Linked DNA regions of Homo sapiens: regions 1 and 3 are each linked to region 2. Evidence: promoter capture Hi-C in human tissues and cell types (Jung and others, 2019). All regions are on one chromosome and are shown on one strand. The core of a region is centred on a gene start or on the middle of the fragment in contact, and the rest is flanking DNA. Distances in the headings are between cores, read along the strand shown.

Region 1 (4,275 bases), core at 413-2,912, 350 kb before region 2:
CAGGTCCCAAATAACTCATAAGACCCCCAAGGCTATGGGATGTAGGAAGGGTCTATACTACCAGGAATGCAGCTATCCATCCCCCAGGCATGTGTCTGCTCATGCAAATGTCTCTCAAGCCTAGAGTCCATGGGTATCTCTAAGAAACATCTCTGGAAATAGAAACATATGACCCCCACCAACCCAGCCTTGCCAGGTGTCTGAGCCAAGCCCCTGCTGGGGGCTCTTCTGTCATTCCACGACAGGCCCAGCCTCAGTGTCCAGCTGAAGTTCCTGAAAGCTCTGTGGTTCTGGAGTCTGGATGGGGCCAAGCATGTGAAGGTGAGAGATTGAGCCTCCGCCTGCCTGGCCCCTCCAGTGCTTGTTAGGACCCAACCCCGACCCAGCCCAGCTCCAGAATCCTGCCCTGAGAGCCTGCGAGGACAGACAGGGATTTCCAGTGCTGACTGCAGTCTGGCTTCTCCTCTCTTCTGCTCTGAGGGGGCTTCAGTGCAAAGGGTAAGAGCTTTGGGGTCAGGAGGCCTGGGTGTAAAGTATGGCTCTGCCACTGTGAGCTAAGAGATGCTGGGAAAGCCATTTCACCTCCAAGGGCCTCAGTCCCTCATCTGTAAAACTGGGACAATACATCTGCCTCATGGGATTGTTCTGGATACACTCATTTGAGAACACAGTATTAAAATGCTCTTCCATGGTGGAAGGGTTCTTATCATAAAAGCCCTTACTATGTGCCAGCCACCATTCCAGGCTCTCTGATTACGTAACACCACGAGATGGATTTTAATGATACTCATTTTGCAGATGAAAACAAAGCCTCAGGGAAGATGAACGGCTTCCTCAAGGCCATGGAGGCAGACCTGCCATGGGAAGCCTGGCCTCTTGAGTCCCAGGTGTGGCCATTTCCCTTGCACGTGGTGCCCTTGCTGTATGCATACAAAAGTGTTGATGATTTTGTGGAAACGAGTGCCTGTTTAGCTGGTGCCTCTCATGAAATACTCTTAGCATCTGTGATGTTTCTGCAACCTGGCACTGTGTGACCTCTTCTAGAGGTTACCCTGCAGTTCAGGGCAGGTGGGGTGCAAATGTGTGACAACCTTGAGCAGGCCTGGGTGATGCTGGGGGGGCCCAGATGGAAGCCCTCCCTATCCAGGAGGTGGCTGTGGCCAGTGTGCAAGCCCAGATGTTCTGGAAGTAGCCAGGCTGTGGCCATGGAGGGGTGTGTCATCCAGAGGGGAGGAAAAGCCCATTTTCTGTCTGCTGAGCTCCTGTAGCTGGACAGGCTGAGCCTCAAGAGCCCCCCAAGATTTTCTAGTCCAGTTGCTTGTAGATGCAGGTCCTTGGGTTTCCTCTGGTACAATTAACAGAAAAATAAGTACAAGGTGGTGAATTCCTTGTTAGCTAAATTTATTCAATTTACAGGTTTATATTCTGAAATTATCTCCTTTCAACTGTGTTTGAAGTTAAAATATTCCTTACTTAAGAAAATTAAAAAGATGATGGTGGGAAGCAGATAAAAGTCTCAAAGTCCTCATTTGGCAAAATGAAAATCTGGTAATTGCATTGTTCTTCCCACTCACCTACCTTTTTTTTTTTTAAGATGAGAAAGAATTGAGCATGCTTGAAATATGAGGAAGAGAATATTCTAGGATGAGTGAGGCTGATGATACAGGAGAGAGGGGGGAAAAATGATAAGCCTGAGGTTCCAAGAAGGCAGCAAGGTGGGGACCAGAGCTTGGGTGCAGGGTTGAGGAGGACGCCTTGGGTGGAGGAAGACACCTCTTCACCTGTAACTGAAGGGAAGGAGGGAGGAGGCTGGCAGGCAAGTAATTTGGCAGCCAAAAAGGGAGCAAATTCTCAGCTGATGGCTTCTAATCAGAGCACCACTGTCTGAAGTAGAAGGTGAAGTCATCCACAGAGGAAGAGGAGAGAGAAGGGAGGATTCTTGGTTTGAAGAGGTGAGACTATTTGACATAAGAGAAATTGGCCACAAGAACTGACCAGGACAAGAAGTTAAAGATGTTTCCTCCCATGGGCCATTATGATTGATTGGTAGCACCTGCCTGGAACGTTATGGTATAAGATGATAAAGTCGCATCAGAGCCCAGCAGAGAAGAGGCCCTTATTGATTTGTGATGTCTGCTGGGGACCGAGATTAGGGCACATGCCAGCTACAAATCTGCTCTGTCTATGCTAGGAACATAGAGGATGCTGACTGCAATGAGGGCCCATGAACCTGCCAAGTCACGGGTGTAAGATTTTCTCCAGCAACACCAAGCAGCTGGGGTGTAAATGTGGATGTTGTCACCCAGGCCTGTGTGCTGATTTTATCCTAGCACCCACTGCTCAGTGATCATCCCATTGCATGTGAACTACTCCAGGACAGGGCACATACGCCTCAGAATTGCTGACACCTAGGAGATGTTCTGTGAGGACATACTGGACCAAATCACACAGAATGAAGTTCATTCCATTGAGTCAAGGTATCTCCAGGCCCAATTGTGGGGGTGGGGTCCAGTCTTATGCACTAGAAGAAAATTACAATTTTACCCTTAGTTCCAGGGAAACAGGTTTCTCAGGATATTTACTTGTTCAGCCATCCAGAAATCTTCTAGCATTCTTTTTTCCTGGACTAGAATGAGTAATGTAGGAATTAGAGGAACTGGGCTGGAGACATGAGCCGGACTCAGGGGTGGACCAGGTAACCTCTAGGGCCCATTCATTTCAAACTCTGAGAACCAGTGGTTATCACACACTCCGTCCCTAGCACGTGCTATAATCTGAGTATAATTCTAACTTCTGACATTCCAAAATCCTTGACCCTAACATGCTGTTGCTTTAAAGTTGCACAGCTCTAATATTCCAGCATGCTGTAATCAGAGCCTTCTAACATGCTAGCATTATTTGCTCCAGCCTCTCTTGGATTCCTTGGGAGGAGTATGGAGCTAAGAGCCTTCCAGGAATGGAAATCACTCTTCGCAGGACTGCTGTCACCTGCTCCACAGGGAGCAGAAGTCCAGGCAGAAGGCAGAACTTGAAGAGTTAAGAGGCAAGCAGTGTGAGCACCAGAGACAGAGAGGCTGGCTCCATTACTCAGGCACCCACACATTTGGCACATGCAGCCCCCAGGCTCATGCCAGCCTGTTTCTACCCCAGCTAGAGTGCCGCAGACCCCATAATCCAAAACACACCTGTGAAGCTGGGACACAGAAGCAGATCAGAGGTAAGCACCCAGGCTTGAGAGAAGGGAGAGATATAAGACCAACACACAGAATACCATTAACACCTTTTAAAATTCATAACGTTAGAAATTGCTCCCTAGAGAGTGGACACCATCCTGCTTGAAAAAATTCCCATATCCATCAACTTATATGGCCCTTCCACATCCTCAATTCCTCTTGGAGGGAAACAGGATGGTATTTATTATTCCATTTGGCTGGTCAGTAAATCCAAGTACAGATGGGATGTCAGAGAGTCTTAGAACTGAAGTGAAATGGTGGTCACATTGTCTAGGTCATTCTTCCTGATGACCAGGAAGTCATCCTGATCCCTAAAAAATCCATCCAGCTGTCACTTGGGCCCTCTGTTCTGCTGGGAATTCTTCTGCTGGGCCTTCCCTGATTTCCCTTCTGGGCTCCCATAGGCCTCCAGGATTTTGCTATCACAGCCTCTCTCATGCTCCCAGTCTAGGATGTCCACTCCCTGAGCACTAAGAAGGTGCGTATTACCCACTTGTTGAATGAATGAATGAATGAATGAATGAATGCACCAACCCTGAGGTCCATAAACAGAAATGCTGCCTGCTTCTACATTATCCCACAGCAAAACCCAGCCTAAAACCTACATCTTCTGCCCCCATGGTGGGAGACTGAGGGGTCCAACCACATCACATCTGCCTTTGGAAGCTGAGGCTAGATTGACAGGTGAAAAGACCTAAGGAAAGAGAGTCCCAGGTACTGCTGAGTAAACCATGCAATCACAGCTAGAGGAGGGGGAGTTTAGTGCTAAGCAGGAGCATTTGTAGGGAGGGGAGGCGGCAAGATGATTAGGTAGGGAAAAGCCAGAAAAGAAAGAAAATAGAGCAAGGTGAGAGTTACGCCAAAGACGTGAGGGTAGAAAGGGGATTCTGAGATCTTCTATGTGGCCTTCTCAGAGTCTTTCCTCCTCTGTCTGCACAGTGAGGGGCTTTAGACAGAGCTAGGTCCAAGGTCCCCTTTAGCCCCCAACATTCAGCGTTTCCACACATGTCTAACAGAGGTTTGAGTGACTGGCACTGAAAGG
Region 2 (4,253 bases), core at 1,139-3,638:
CTTCTCTTCCACCCAATCTCATTGCCTTTAGCCACAATAAATATCACAGGGCCTGGGACAGGGTGGAACACTGACAGGGTTGCTGGCCGGAGATGGCTGGACCCAGCCAGCCAAGGGAAAGGAAAGAAATTCCTTTAAAAGCACCCAAACACAAAAGAGAAAGGATTTTCCTCAGTGGAGTGGGATCCAGGGTTTCTGCAGGGAATATAAAGACCCCCTGCTTCACCTCTCCGTTCAGCTCCGCCTGCGTAGACACTGGTTTAGGCTTCAGAGGAAACGAACTTCCTTGGAGAACAGCAAAAAAAAAAAAAAAAAAAAAAAGGTTGAATTTTTCTTTTAAGCACAAAGCAGATAATAGATGTCTTTAAATTATAATATTGGACAAGCAGGGTCTCAACGTTGGGGAAGAAGTGAGAGGGGAAAGGCAGAAAGGGAGACCCTCTGTTGGTGTTTCTGGCGGGATCCGTGGAGCCTGGCCAGGCATCTCTCCCGGAATGTGTTCCCCGAGAGGCGCAGAGGCAGGGAAAAAAACGAAGCCCCCACCCCCCTGCTTTTATTTCTCAAACTGTAAAGAATCTTGGCCTGCGACTTCTTCGCGTAGCCCCGGGCCTGTCGCCCTGAGCGATAGAGCCCGCTTAGTCCCAACTATCTGCGAGATTCTGTGCGTGGAGCCTGAAGTGCCGTGTCACGCGTGCCGGCCCAAGGTCTGGAGACTTCATAAATAGACTCCCTGAGTTCCGCTGGGACCGCAGGAACTCCCGGGAGAGGCTGAGGAGTGCGGACCTAACCGGCCCTGGGCCTGCTGCGGTCAGAAGTGGCAGCCACTAAGGCCGGCGACTTTGCTGGCAAACCGGGACCCTGAGGACAGCAGCGCGTCCCCGGGATGCGAGAGGCGAATGTGGCCAGCAACGGGAGCCAGGGCCGGAGCAGTCAGCATGGCCAAGACCTGGGCTTGGCCCCCAGGACCCGCGGCTGCCGCGAATGGCGGTCCCGGAGAGCCCTCGCCGGCGCCCGGGGGTGCTGCCCCGCCGCCACCGTGGCCCATGATGTGGTCTATAGAGAAGGAAGGCCTCTGCCCTGCCCCGGCGCCCCCGCCGCCTGCACCACCGCCCGCGTCCGTCTTGAGGCCCTGGCGCAGAAGTGCGGTGGGCAGACCCGCCGCGGTGCCGGCTGCGGGAGGACTCAGGGACGCCGCGTAGAAGGCTTTGGCGCAGCCCAGCTCCGCGCCCAGGAAGGCGGGCAGGCCTGCGGGGCCCGGGCCCGGGCCCGAGCCTGAGGCAGGCGCAGGAGCTGGGGCCGATCCCGCGCCTGCGAACACCGAGGCCGTCGGAGGTCCGGGTGGAGGCGCGGCGGCGCGGCCTGGGGGTACCGACAGCTGGCAAGGAGCGGCGGCGGCTGCCGCGGCGAAAGCGAAGGCGTGCGGGTGCGGGTGCGGATGCGGGGCCGGCCCCGGCGGGGGTGCGCCGTAGGCCGGGAGAGCCAGCCCGTAGCCGTAGCCGTAGGCGCCGTAGGCAGCGAAGCCGGGCAGGAAAGCGCCGGGATCCCCCGCCGCCGCGGCCCCGCCACGCAGCAGCAGCTCCGGGTGAGGGTGCGGGTGTGGGTGCGGCGGCGGCAGGGGCTGCCGCTTGAAGCGCTTGCGACGCCGCAGGAAGCTGCCGTTGTCGAACATGTCGGCCGACTCCGGGTCCAGCGTCCAGTAGTTGCCCTTGCCCGGGTTGCCCGGCTCGCGGGGGATCTTGACGAAGCAGTCGTTGAGAGAGAGGTTGTGGCGGATGCTGTTCTGCCAGGCGGGGAACTTCTCCCGGTAGTAGGGGAAGCGGCCGCTGATGAACTCGCAGATCTCGCTCAACGTCAGCCGCTTCTTGGGGCTCTGCAGGATGGCCATGGTGATGAGCGCGATGTACGAGTAGGGCGGCTTCACCAGCGGGCTCCGCGTCGCCGCGCCCCCCGACGGCGGTCCCGGCCCGGGCCCCGCTGCGCCGCGGGCCGCCGCGGCGCCTGGCCCCGGGCTCCCCGCTGCGGCCGCCGCCCCCCGGGACGCCAGAGCGCGGGGCTCGCCGTCCGAGCAGCCACCAGACTCCTCCTCGTCCTCGGCTAAGTCTGCCTCGGCTTCCTCCGCGGGAGGCTCGTGGCCGTGGGGGAGCACGTCCCGGGGGGCGCGGGGCCCGGAGCGAGCTGGGAGCTCCCCCCCGCCGCTGCCGCCGCCCACCACGTCTATGTCTGCGTCGGCCTCGGACAGCGCGGCCGGGGAGCTCTCGGAGGACATGATCTCGCAGCAGCAGCTGCCCAGGGTCATGGTGCCGCTGCCGCCGCCGCCGCCACTCTCCGGCTCCGCTCCGGCAGCGGCTCGGGCTCGGCCGCGCTGCCTCTGGGGCGAGTGCGTTTTGCGCGCGGGCGGGGAGGGGGCGGGGGACTGAGGCAGGCAGGGAGGGGTGTCCCCCGGCTCCGCAGCGCCCCCTGGCGGCCCAGCTCGGCCGCGCTCACCTTCCAGGGCACGACCCGCCGGCGGCCCCCGCCACTACCCCGGGAATCCGAGCTGGGACCCGCCGCTGGGGCGCAACGGAAGGAGCTGAGGCTTTCCCTTACCTGGGCGGGCCTCAGCCCCTAGTCCCCTCGGGGTGGCAGTGGTTGGTGGTGGGGGATTGTCCCTCCCGCCTAGCGGCTGCCTAAGGCGGAAGAGCTGCGGGCTAGGGCGGAGCTCCCTGGGCGGGGTGGGGCGAGGCGACAGGGGCGGGCGTAGCGCCTCCGCTGAGGGACCCGGCGGGAACAAACCGCCGCCGCGGCGGGAGCTGGGCTCGAGTGGCCGGAGGCGGGCCCTTGTCTTCGCCGCCGCTCCTGCACCCTGTGCTCCCTGAAGCCGCCGCCTTCAGAACGCTCAGCCCCTGGATGTTAAGGCTCACTCGGGCGCCAGCCGCAGCCAGGGAAGTGGCGGCGGTCCCCACCCGTCCTCTCCCCAAGGCGGCGCCCGGGCCACCGGGCCGAAGCGCAGTGGGAGCGCGAGGCTGAGACGCCGGGACCCACGCCGCCCCAGCGCGGCCCGCCGGCGCCCACCCGAGCCCGCACGGCTTCCAGCCCGAGGGGAGACGCATTCGAGTGATCACCAGGAGCGAACTTGGCGCCCGCAGCCTTGGGCCTGGGAGAGGTGAGATTGCGGCGGCGCCCTCTCCTCCCTCCGCTGTCGGGCCCGCCACCCCTCTCCGCGCGGAGAGGCCGGGCAGAGCGCCGGCCGCTGTGGCCGCGTTCCCGGGGCGCGGGCCGGTCTACTGCTCCGAGTTTGCCTGTTCTCCGACCCTCTGGATCTCGGCATCCGTTTGTCTCAGTCTCTGTGACTATCTCACTCTCCGTGAGTCTCTGTGGAAACGGCATTTGTCTGGATGTCTGTTCATGGGTCTGGGAATCCGCTTAATTTCTCCCTCCCCTCTCCCTGGCCCCAGTTGCCCTGAGGACTGGACACCCCCCACCTTCCTGGCTCCCAGGGTTCTGGGCCCCACCGACAGGCGGCAGGACCTCCTCCGCCCCCTGCCCGACACCCCCTCAGTGAACCCTGACCTCCACCAAGTGTTGCCTTCATCTCTCAAAAGTCTTGTGCAACTAAGGTTGGCCCTGTGCCTTGTTTCTCGCTAGCCGGGTTCCTGCCCATCCTATTAGACCTCTTTCTCCCCCGGCCTCCCTCCAGGACCCAGAAACAAGCAGCTTCAACACAGATTGGGCCCATTTCAGCCTCTGGGGCACGGAAGGGGAGATGGGCGCTGGACGTGAGCAGGAACTGAGCGGATGCCTGGGCTGCTGCCCCGACAGCGCCGCACAGTGGCTAAAGCTCGGGCGTGCGAGGCCGGAATCCCAGCTGCCTCCGCTGTAGCAAGGCTGTGTGACCCTCATTAGGTGACTTCCCCGCTTCGGAGCCTCAGTTTCCTGGTCTGCATAGTAGTTAAGAGCAGCGACCTTAAGTCAGGCTCCTGGGGTTCCAATCCTGCCTTCACTACTTACCCTATCTGTCACCTTGGGCAAGGTTCTTTGCGCTTTGTTTCTGCCTTTGTAAAAATGAGGCTAGTAACACCTACCTCAGAACTGATGTATAAGTGTAGCCATATTCTAGGCCATTTAGGAAAGGGTACTGAGAACACTTTGCAGTTTCATCTAACAGCAGCCTCCAATCTACGGGATAGCCTGGTGTTAATCCAACTCTCCCATTCCACAGATGGAGCTACAGAGGCCCAGGATAGGGAGAAAGAACTCACCCAGGCTCCTGCAAA
Region 3 (4,428 bases), core at 1,895-4,394, 500 kb before region 2:
CTCCCAGCCCAGCTTCTCATGAGCTGGGTGAATTAGGACAAGTAACTCCACCTCTTCAAGCTCCCGTAATTTTTCTGTCCAGGGGATTACAGTGTCCCTGTCTCATAGGGCTGTTGAGAGGACTAAAAGAGAACTCAGACAGAACAGAGAACATGGCACCTGGCAAATGGCAATCCTGCATAACTGTAAGCTCTCATCAGTGTTCTTCACTGCTACCTTATTTTATTCTTAGTATTACTACTACTATCATTTAAAATCTTCTTATCATTTAATGATAACATTTAAAAGTAGAACTTCTCTAACTTAAATCACAACATCCATCCTGGTATCCTGGTCTGTGTGCACCAGCCTGCTCATTGAATGTCTTCTCTTCATTGTCATGTTGGCTTTTATTGGATTTTGACCTCAAAAACTTTCAAAACTCTCTGCCTGTGCTTTCAATCCCATCTTCTGCCTGCATACCCTAATCGAAAGTGGAACTTACTAATTAATGATAATTACAGAATCCTGGGGGTGGGGGGGTTGGCATTAGGAATTCAAGGCTCCTCACCATGTGGTCTCCGTGATCCTCGTTCTCTTCCTCATCACCGTTATCCCAGGCACCCTAGCCTGGAAAGCTCTTTCCTGCATGCCACTCATCTTTCCCTAAGCTGTTTCTTCCTCCTAATTCACACCCCTCTGTCAGTCTGCCCCTCTCTGTCTCTGTCTCTGTCTCTGTCTGTCTCATGCACACACTCTTACTTTTCTGTGTATGAGATTCAGAACCCATTAAAGTCAACCTCTTATCCTCCTCCTGCCAAGAAACTATCTCAAATCCCTGCTTCCAGAAGAAATGAGTCCTCTGGTTCTCAGCCAAGACCTTCTCTCCGGCTGTGTGCACTGTCTTCACCCCACAGGTCTCAAATGTTGTGTGCTTCCTGCTGGAGTTGAACTGAATCCAGTCCAACACCATCGTTTTAGACAGGGACACATGATTCCAGTAAAAGGAAAGTGGGAGATCTCTCTTCTCCATTTCCCATTCTCAATCCCAGAGAGAAGAATTCCTCTGGGATCCCTCCAGCTGTTAGTAAGCTAAAGTCATGGAGTATGCACTATTCTCAAAGCAGAGGAGAAAGATGCATTTTCCCAGTGTCTAGTGCTTCCAAAAAGAAGACAGGTTGGAGCAGATGCCTTCTACCACTGCTTCCTACCTCCCTATCCACCACTATGTTTAGTCCAGGACTTGAGACAGAAAGGACCATAGTTTTCAGAAAAACAGATGGACAGGTGAAAAGGTTTGTAGATGGCCATACTCCAGAGACAGATAGAGCTGGGACTAAAATAACCAGTGGTGGTTTGACTCTTTAATCCTGAGTTTACTCTTGCTTGGCCTCTCTGCTCTCCTTTCCTTCACCTTCTGTGGCCTCTCTGTGCCTGCAGCGTTGAACCCCGCTCACCTGTATAACACTTAAAAGAGAGAAGGGTCCTGCTAATGGACTATACATCCCTTTCTGTTTTCTAGTCTCTTCCAGGCCTGAGTTCCCTTTGGCCTCATCTAATTTCCCTCAGGCCTTGTTCTGTGGGCCTGTGCCGGAAGTTTGGTGGCTACAATATGTAATTTAGGCCCCATTTGCGGCTGGCAAAATATATCATGAGTAGTAGAACTGGAGAATCATAATATTGTTGGAGACCACTGTGGGATTGAGGTGGGGAGCTAGGAGTTTTTTCCCATATCCTCTTGGAACAAGGAAGTCATGACAGACATGTGCACTGCCCCTGCTTCAATCCTTCACTGAGTCTGGAGCATTTGATTTATCTCCCTGGGTATCGGGGTTGGAATGTTCCCCTCTGTCCTTGGCTGCAGGTGGTATGAGCTGAAGGACAGTTTGCATCCACAGGGCAGGAGGCAGAATGATTGGCCTTAAGAGACAATACCTTCACTTAAACATTGGGTGGCCCCACCTCCATGAACCCTACTCCTTTATCAAGGATCTTGGGTCTCTTACCTGTGACAGGAAGCTTGTTTTTTTTTTTCCTAAAAATTCTGTGAATGGTAGAAAAGTAAAAGTGTCAGGGCCTGCCTCTGACTCTCTAAGTCACCCTGAACAAACCTCTTCCATTTTCTGGGCCTCAGTTTTCTCATTTGTAATAATGATGATGATGGTGGTGATGACAATGATAGTGATGATGATGGTGATGATAGTGACAGTGGTGGTGATGATGGTGATGATAGTAGTGATGATGATGGTGATGATCATGATGGTAGTAGTGATGATGGTGATGATTATGATGGTGATGGTGATGATGATGATCATGACGGTGGTGGTGATGATGATGATCATGATGGTGGTGGTGATGGTGATGATCATGATGGTGGTGGTGATGGTCATGATCATGATGGTAGTGGTGATGATGATGGTGATGGTGATGATCATGGTGGTGGTGGTGATGGTGATGATCATGGTAGTGGTGATGATGATGGTGATAATGATGATAATGATGGTGGTGGTGGTGATGGTGATGATCATGGTAGTGGTAATGATGGTGATGGTGATGATCATGCTGGTGGTGGTGGTGATGATCATGGTAGTGGTGATGATGATGGTGATAATGATGATAATGATGGTGGTGGTGGTGATGGTGATGATGATCATGGTAGTGGTGATGATGGTGATGGTGGTGATCATGATGGTGGTGGTGATGGTGATGATCATGATGGTGGTGGTGATGATGGTGATGGTGATAATTATGGTGGTGGTGATGGTGATGATCATGATGGTGATGGTAGTGATGGTGATGGTGGTGGTGGTGGTGATGATGATGATGATTCTTATTTGTTGATCAATGTGTTGTAAATGGTTTCCACATACTTATTCCATAGAACATTCCAATGTGGCAGGTACTGTTATCATACTTATTCTACAGATGAGAAAACTGAAGCATTGAATGATTAACTTGGCCAAGATCACGCAGCTCATAAGCGGAGGAAACAGAATACCTTTGACAACAAGGAGAGTGCAATAGGTTTTTTTAAGCTTCCTCCAAAATCCGAAATATAGTGGCAAACTAATTTTTAAAACTTATTATCCTTTTTATGCCTTTTCCTTTGTCTGTACAGCACTCCTCTGTAACTGAAGATACGCTTTCCTAGAAGTTCTATCCCTTCCTCAAGACTCAGCTCTTCCACAAGCCTCTCCTGACATCTCTAGGCTTGGTAGACCTCCTCATGGTCTGTCTGCCCTTTGCCCTCATACCTGCTGGGTTCTCTGTTCACCTTTCCTGTTGTTTTTCTGCTCCAGCACCCTGTGAGCTCCTAGTTGGGAGTGGGGCAAGATTTTACCCATCTCTTTCCATCTGCCCTAATGTAGGGCTGCTCTTAGGGTGGCCTGTTATTTCATCCACACTCATTGTGAGTCTATAAATGATGAAGAAGTCAATTCATGACCTCAGCCCCAAGTAAACCAATCTCTTCTCTTTGATCATTGGTCCACCAGTACATCACACCCTTTGCATTCAGCTGAGTCTGTTGCTAAGAATGGCTTTCTTGCCTGACCTCATTTGAGAGAGAGGAGAGACCTCATAGTTCCTGAGTCCCTCCTGTGTGCCAGGTGCCATTCTGGGTGCTTTCCCATATGTTCTTCTGTTTACTACGCTTAACAGCCCTGCAAGGCAGCAGCTCTTAGCTCTATTTTTACATTTGAGTCTCAGAGAAGGGAAACAGTTTGTCCAGGATTGCACAGCTAATGAGCAGCAAAATTGGAATTTGAGCATGAGTCTGCCTTCCTCTAAAGTTGAAGCTCTTTTTTTCTGTGGCTTTATTTCCTGCATCCTAAATTACAAGACATAGTGGGATATTTGGGATGCGTGGGCATGAAATATCATATAAGAGATACAGTTTAGATATCTAAATATTGGGGTTTCTAGGTCATTCTGGTGACATAAGGAACTGATGAGATATGGTATTTAAAAGTAGGACTAACCTAGAAAATTCAGGACTTTTCAGTCCCAGTTGAGATATAGTGTTTTTTTCCTGCAGTCCTATCTTACTTGCTTGTTGAAGCCTTTGCCCATTGCTTTTTTGAGTCCTCTTAAATATCCTGCAGTAGGGCAGTAATAAGTGACTGCCCTAATTTTATTACCTACTTAGTGCACTAGGACTTTCTTTATGTGAAGTTTGCTCAGTGGTCATTTCCTGAGTACCCGTGTTATTGAGGTCAGATATGTCCCCAGAAGCTCTATTTTAATGAAGCAAGAGACAAAACAGCCTGTTGCAATACAGTGACGACGGGTGCGAACACATGTGGTGTAAGGCTTAAATTTTGGGTTGGAATCTTCTGAATTTAAGTCCAGCTCCATTATTTGGCAGTTGTTTGACCTTAAGCAACTCCCTTAACCTCTCTGAGCTTTTGTTCCCTAGTCTGTCAAATGTGGATAAGGATAGTGCCTTTC

What was found. Contacts are between HindIII fragments. The study calls those that stand out against the background at their distance.
Region 1: a fragment that was not itself captured here is called in contact with the fragment with the promoter of FOXD2 in region 2 in 1 of the 25 tissues and cell types used here (pancreas).
Region 3: a contact is called between a fragment that was not itself captured here and the fragment with the promoter of FOXD2 in region 2, in 1 of the 25 tissues and cell types used here (heart right ventricle).

What each region holds. Positions count from the first base shown.
Region 1 is chr1:47,787,258-47,791,532 of GRCh38, reverse strand. All of the region lies in intron 4 of TRABD2B (TraB domain containing 2B), which reads left to right. Among named protein-coding and RNA genes, the nearest start is that of LINC01738, 100 kb to the right of the region's middle. The HindIII fragment of the contact is 8,311 bases long and covers 1-4,275 here.
Region 2 is chr1:47,436,179-47,440,431 of GRCh38, reverse strand. FOXD2 (forkhead box D2) reads right to left here and starts at 2,388. Exons shown (of 1, transcript NM_004474.4): 1 at 1-2,388. The coding sequence starts at 2,296. The coding sequence ends at 809. It overlaps LINC01389 (long intergenic non-protein coding RNA 1389), which reads left to right and starts at 3,115. Exons shown (of 5, transcript NR_126355.1): 1 at 3,115-3,142. RefSeq lists an enhancer at 201-970 and silencers at 2,159-2,338, 2,369-3,268, 3,749-3,908. The HindIII fragment of the contact is 12,527 bases long and covers 1-4,253 here.
Region 3 is chr1:47,935,228-47,939,655 of GRCh38, reverse strand. All of the region lies in intron 2 of TRABD2B (TraB domain containing 2B), which reads left to right. Among named protein-coding and RNA genes, the nearest start is that of TRABD2B, 60 kb to the left of the region's middle. The HindIII fragment of the contact is 4,707 bases long and covers 791-4,428 here.